2 separate regions of the Homo sapiens genome follow, and region 1 is linked to region 2. Evidence: promoter capture Hi-C in human tissues and cell types (Jung and others, 2019). All regions are on one chromosome and are shown on one strand. Each heading gives the region's core, a stretch centred on a gene start or on the middle of the fragment in contact. The rest is flanking DNA. Distances are from core to core; before and after follow the strand shown. Region 1 holds the start of MAP1LC3A (microtubule associated protein 1 light chain 3 alpha). Region 2 overlaps MMP24-AS1-EDEM2 (MMP24-AS1-EDEM2 readthrough).

Evidence for each region. Contacts are between HindIII fragments. The study calls those that stand out against the background at their distance.
Region 1: a contact is called between the fragment with the promoter of MAP1LC3A here and a fragment that was not itself captured in region 2, in 1 of the 25 tissues and cell types used here (dorsolateral prefrontal cortex).

The regions. Positions count from the first base shown.
Region 1 is chr20:34,557,430-34,560,129 of GRCh38, reverse strand. MAP1LC3A (microtubule associated protein 1 light chain 3 alpha) reads right to left here and starts at 1,412. Exons shown (of 4, transcript NM_032514.4): 1 at 1,222-1,412; 2 at 867-922; 3 at 677-783; 4 at 1-394. The coding sequence starts at 1,261. The coding sequence ends at 232. RefSeq lists silencers at 1,231-1,280, 1,621-1,710. The HindIII fragment of the contact is 19,125 bases long and covers 1-2,700 here.
Region 2 is chr20:35,258,127-35,260,826 of GRCh38, reverse strand. The region is part of intron 2 of MMP24-AS1-EDEM2 (MMP24-AS1-EDEM2 readthrough); the gene reads left to right. All of the region lies in intron 4 of MMP24 (matrix metallopeptidase 24), which reads right to left. Among named protein-coding and RNA genes, the nearest start is that of MMP24-AS1-EDEM2, 19 kb to the left of the region's middle. The HindIII fragment of the contact is 5,720 bases long and covers 1-2,700 here.

The DNA of each region.
Region 1 (2,700 bases), core at 163-2,662, 700 kb after region 2:
CTCCCCACCCTCCCCCATCCCACCAGCCAGCACCCAGAGGGACAACCCTAACACGACCGGCCCAGGATCCACCCAGGGGCAGAGTAGGTGGGTTGGTGCCCTCTGACTAGGGGGGCACATGCCTGCCCAGCCCACCACGGTAGAGGCAGCTCAGTTCAGGAACCAGGAGCTCTCTGGGCAGGGCCTGACCGGGGCCGCCCGACTCCCAGGCCGAGCCCCCCTACTGCTGGCTCAGAAGCCGAAGGTTTCCTGGGAGGCGTAGACCATATAGAGGAAGCCGTCCTCGTCTTTCTCCTGCTCGTAGATGTCCGCGATGGGCGTGGACACACTCACCATGCTGTGCTGGTTCACCAGCAGGAAGAAGGCCTGCGTGGGGTTCAGCTGCAGGCGGCGCCTGCAGCCGGCGGGAGAGTATGCAGCTGTGAGGGGCTTGGCTGCGGGACGGACATAGCCCTGACCCCCAGAATGATTCCCAGCCTTTCACACCCATTCTCACCCCAGCTGTCACCTCTGACCCAACACCGACTGCAGCCCCGACCTTGACCTTTCCAGCCACCCCAGAACAGGGGCCCACCGCCCGGTCCCATCACCCCTGACCCCACTCCCACCCCTTCTCGGCGGGAACCCGGCTCCCCTCCCGACCCTAGCCACCTCCTGGCGGCGGCTGCCCACGCACCGGATGATCTTGACCAACTCGCTCATGTTGACATGGTCCGGGACCAAAAACTTGGTCTTGTCCAGGACGGGCAGCTGCTTCTCACCCTTGTAGCGCTCGATGATCACCTGGGAGCAGGGCGGGCGGGCAGGGGGTCGTGTCGGGAACGCGCGAGGCGGGGGCGGGGCAGGGCTGGGGGTGCGGGACTCACCGGGATTTTGCTGGGGTGCTGGTCGCGGATCTGCTGTACCTCCTTACAGCGGTCGGCTGCGGACAGCGGCCAGACCGTGAGGCCGGGTCGGGCCGGCCCAGGTCCGCCCCGCCTGTCCCGGAGGGGCGGCCCCCGGCCACGCCCCAGCTCCAGCCCCCACCCCCGGGGCCATCAGGCCCCACAGCCCCTGGCACCTATCGCGGTGGGGAAGCGGGCAGCCCCCGCCCAGGCCGGAGCTGGTCCCAGCCCGAGGGTCCAGCCAGAGCCTGACGTCACGGGGCTGACGTCACCTGCGGCAGTCGGGGTCGGCCGGCACCCCTGCCCCAGAGCTCGCAGCTCGCCTGCCGGGCCTCACCGAAGCTCCGCCGCTGCTTGAAAGGCCGGTCTGAGGGCATCGCGCGGGCCCGGCTGGGCGCGCAGGCCGGGGCTCTGGGGCGCGGGGATGTGTCTGCGGTTTGGGGGCTCCGGGGGCTCCGCGCCTCGCGCTCAAGGGCTCCGGGGCTCGCGCTGAGCACGGCGGCTGCGGCTGCGGGAGGTAACTCGCCCGGTGACGTCAGGTCACAACATTCCTTAAAGGGGAGGCCAGTGCGCCGCTCCCATTGGGCCGACGCACAACCCGCCCGCCCGGACCCGTGACGTCACGGCGCAGAGAGCCTGGGTCCGCGGACCGGGACGCGAGGGGCGGGGCTTCTGGGCGCGTCACAGTCCCGTGACGTCATGGGCAGCGCGGGAGCTTCTCCCGCAGCCCGAACTCAAGGTAAGGCCCGGAGGGCGGTGGGGCCGCCCTAGGCCGATGGAGCGGGCGGGCCAGGCTGCAGCCCCACGGCACCACTTCCCGCCCTCACCGAGTCTGTGTCAGGACTGACGCGGTTCTGGGCGCCGTGGGAAACAGCCGGAGCCAAAGGCCCGGCGCCTTCACGGGGCTTAGGGCGAGAGAAGGGAGAAGGTGCGGGAGGCACAGTCAGACACAGGATAGAACAGGATGCTAGAAATGAACGCCCAGGTTTGAAAAAGAATAATATAATTGAAAAGTAGAGCCATCGAAATTCAGGTCTCAGAGGATGAGGTGAGAAGGCAGAAAAGGACAACAGAAGAGAAATCGTGGACCTGGAGGCTGATCGGAAGCAGCTCACCAGAGAGACAGGTGATGGGGAATAAGGAAAAGGGCACAGATGGCAACGCCAGGAGAACTCGCGGGCCCGAGCAGAGCTCCAGAGGCGAACACTGAAAGACCTGCAGAGACAGTTCCTGAAAAAGAGCTGCCAGAAATGATGCTTAAAATCCAGAGCAGAATGCGCAGACTGAAGATCAACATTTTTTTGGGGGAGGGGGGAGGGGGACGAAGTCTCGTTCTGTCGCCAGGCTGGGGTGCAGTGGTGCGATCTCAGCTCACTGCAACCTCTGCCTCCCGGGTTCAAGCGATTCTCCTGCCTCAGTCAGCCTCCTCAGTAGCTGGGATTACAGGCGCCTGCCACCACCCCCAGCTAATTATTGTATTTTTAGTAGAGATGGAGTTTCACCATGTTGGCCAGGATGGTCTCGATCTCCTGACCTCGTGATCCACTCGCCTCGGCCTCCCAAAGTGCTGGGATTACAGGTGTGAGCCACCACGCCTGGCCGCCGAAATAATTTTTAAAGAATGTAGTTTAGTAACAAGGACATGGAACCCAAAAGGAAGAAATTAGATGGAAAAATGGTGAGCAAATTGGTAAACATGTGAATCTAAACAAGCATTTAATATGCAATATGAATAATAATGATTAATTTGTGGGCCACAGAAACAAGATGCATGAGACACAAGAACATGGAAGACTGAGAGGGCAATTTGAGAGGG
Region 2 (2,700 bases), core at 37-2,536:
CAGGCCACGGGCAGTACATGCCTCCCACACTACTGACACCGCCAGTGTCTTCTGTGAAGCCACCTTTGAGCAACGGAAAGGAAGGGGGATGGGCAAGATCAGTGCAAGGTTGGCCAAAAGCCTGGGGCTGGCCTTCTGCTGGCATGAGAGGGCCAGGCCGCCCCCAGCTCCTTACTCAGGTCCTGGCCCCTCTGGCAGCAGGGAAGGGTGAGCTCATCGCTGAGCTCCATCCCAAACAAACTGGTAGAGCCAGCGGAAGGCAGCTCTGCTTCCTGGGGTCCAGTCCTGGCTGTGCTCCTGGGCTATTCTATGACCTGGGACAAGCTGTTCAGGGCCTCTGTCTCCTGAGCAGGCTCTTCCCCAGGGGCTGTCCACAGGGAGCTCAGCTGGGAACCAGGGAACACGGCTCTGAGCACTGTGGGAGACTCAAAACCTTTGTCCGCAGCCTTGTCTCTTGCTCTTTTAACCCCTGTTCTGGGTCTGCAGAGAACAGGAGTGACCCCTTAAAGGAAAGAGGCCTGTGGTTTGGGTCCAGGAACCAAAAGGAAGGGAAGAGCGAGGGAGCCAGTATCCTGCTGCACAGAAACCCAAGAGAGCCCTGAGGGGGAGACAGAGGGAGCAGGGCAGGGGCAGGAGGACTCCCTGAGCTTGTGAGGTGAAGGCAGAGGTATGAGGAGGAGAGGCCTGCTATGAGGACCCCATGCTCCATGGGCAGGAGGCTGCTAGGGTCTTCACTCTTCAAGAGGGTGAGCGGCAGGGAAGCAGAGTGGTCAGGAATGCAGTCTCTGGGAGCCAGACTGCCTGGTTTTGAATCCCAGCTCTGCCATGTCCTAGCAGTGTGACATTTTAAATTCTTCCTCTGGAAGATAGAAGGAACAATGGCACCTTCGTCATAGGGATGTGGGTGAAGATTCATGGGGCAGGGTGTGTAATGCGCTGATACCAGCTCCTGGTACAGAAGTATTACCCTTCATTAGCAGGGTCCTGTTGAGCTGTGTGTGAGCACCAGCACCCCTGATAGGGTGTGTTCCTGTAAGTCCCTGGGCCTCCGAGCAAGTCCCCAGCAGTCTACTCGGCTACTCAAGTGGACCTTGTCTCTGCCTCATTTCTTTCTTTTAGGATCTCCATATTTGGTCGTTCCCATCTCATTAACTCCCCCAGCCCCACGAAAGGTGATAGCATTTCCCTTTGCCTCTGTTCTTCTGCCAGTGCTGCCCCTTCCCCTGGAATAACCTGATTCCTTCAAAGTTCAGCTCCATGCCTGTCTTCCAGGAAGCCTTCCATGACTTCCCAGCTGGCAGTGAGTGCTCCTTCTGCTGTGCCCTCCCAGCAGTTTCCCTGAACTGCCTTTATGGCACTGACCGCTTCCTCCCCACGTGATTGCCACTAGTGCACATGCTCGCTGCCCCAGGACTGTGGGTTCCTTGAGGACAAGCTTTGTGTTGAAGAACCAGGTGACAGCCCCCGGAATGGAACAGCGCCAAAAGCACCGTATTTTACCAAGGGAAATACTCGGACCACCTGCAGCAGAACCACCTGTGGTGACTTAAAAATGCGGAGTCCTGGGGTCACACCTGGCTCTGCCACTTTCCAAAGGGGTGAATTTCCTATTTTTTTAAAAAGTATTTTCTTTCTTTTTTATTTTTGAGACAGGATCTCACTCTGTCACCCAGGTTGGAGTGTAGTGGTGCAATCTCGGCTCACTTGAACCTCCGCCTCCCGGGTTCAAGCCATTCTCCTGCCTCAGCCTCCCGAGTAGCTGGGATTACAGGCATGTGCCACCACACCCGGCTAATTTTTGTATTTTTAGTAGAGACGGGGTTTTGCCATGTTGGCCAGGCTGGTCTCGAACTCCTGACCTCAGGTGATCTGCCCCCCCTCGGCCTCCCAAAGTGCTGGGATTACTCCAGTGCTCCCATCGCACCTGGCCCGGGGAGCCTTTTAAACACATGGAGGAGGTGGGGAAGATATTCTGATTCAGGAGGTTTGGTTTGGGACGTAGGCAATCTTTTTTGTTGTTTTTTTTTTTTAAGTTCTCCAGGTGAATTGTATAATGGTTGGGTCAGGCTGACACAACCTGAAGCAAATGCTCGACCTCAACATCACTAAAAGTGGGACAGTCTGCATCATATGTATTTGCTAATATGGTGAATAGGAAGTACCAGCACCACCTAGGAAGTATTCTTGCCAAAAAAATTGAACTTGAATCTAGTCAGCCTGTAAATCTAATGAACAACATTCAGGAATTATGGGCAAGAGAGACGTATTAAAAGTAAACTTGATTCTAGTCACGCCAAATGATTATACTCGGGACACCTGACCCAGTTTCTTCAACAAATATATGGAGGGAAACGTGTGTGTAGGACGGGGGTGTTTTAAATAAAAAGGGCTTTAAGAGACATGTCAGCCATGTGTGTGTGGATCTTGTTTGGATCCTGATTCAAGCAAACAACTGTAAAAGACATTTCCAAGGTACTTTGGGAAAGTGAACTCGAACTGGGTATTAGATTTTAAAAAATTATTGTTAATTTTGTTGGGCTTGATAATGATTGTGTGCTTATGTTAAAAATTAGCCTTTATCTGTTAGAGGTATATACTAAAGTATTTAAAGGTGAAATGTTAGAATGCCTGAGATTTTCTTTAAAATACATCAGCCAAAAAAAGGTAGATAAATAGGAATGCCACAACGTTGATAATTGC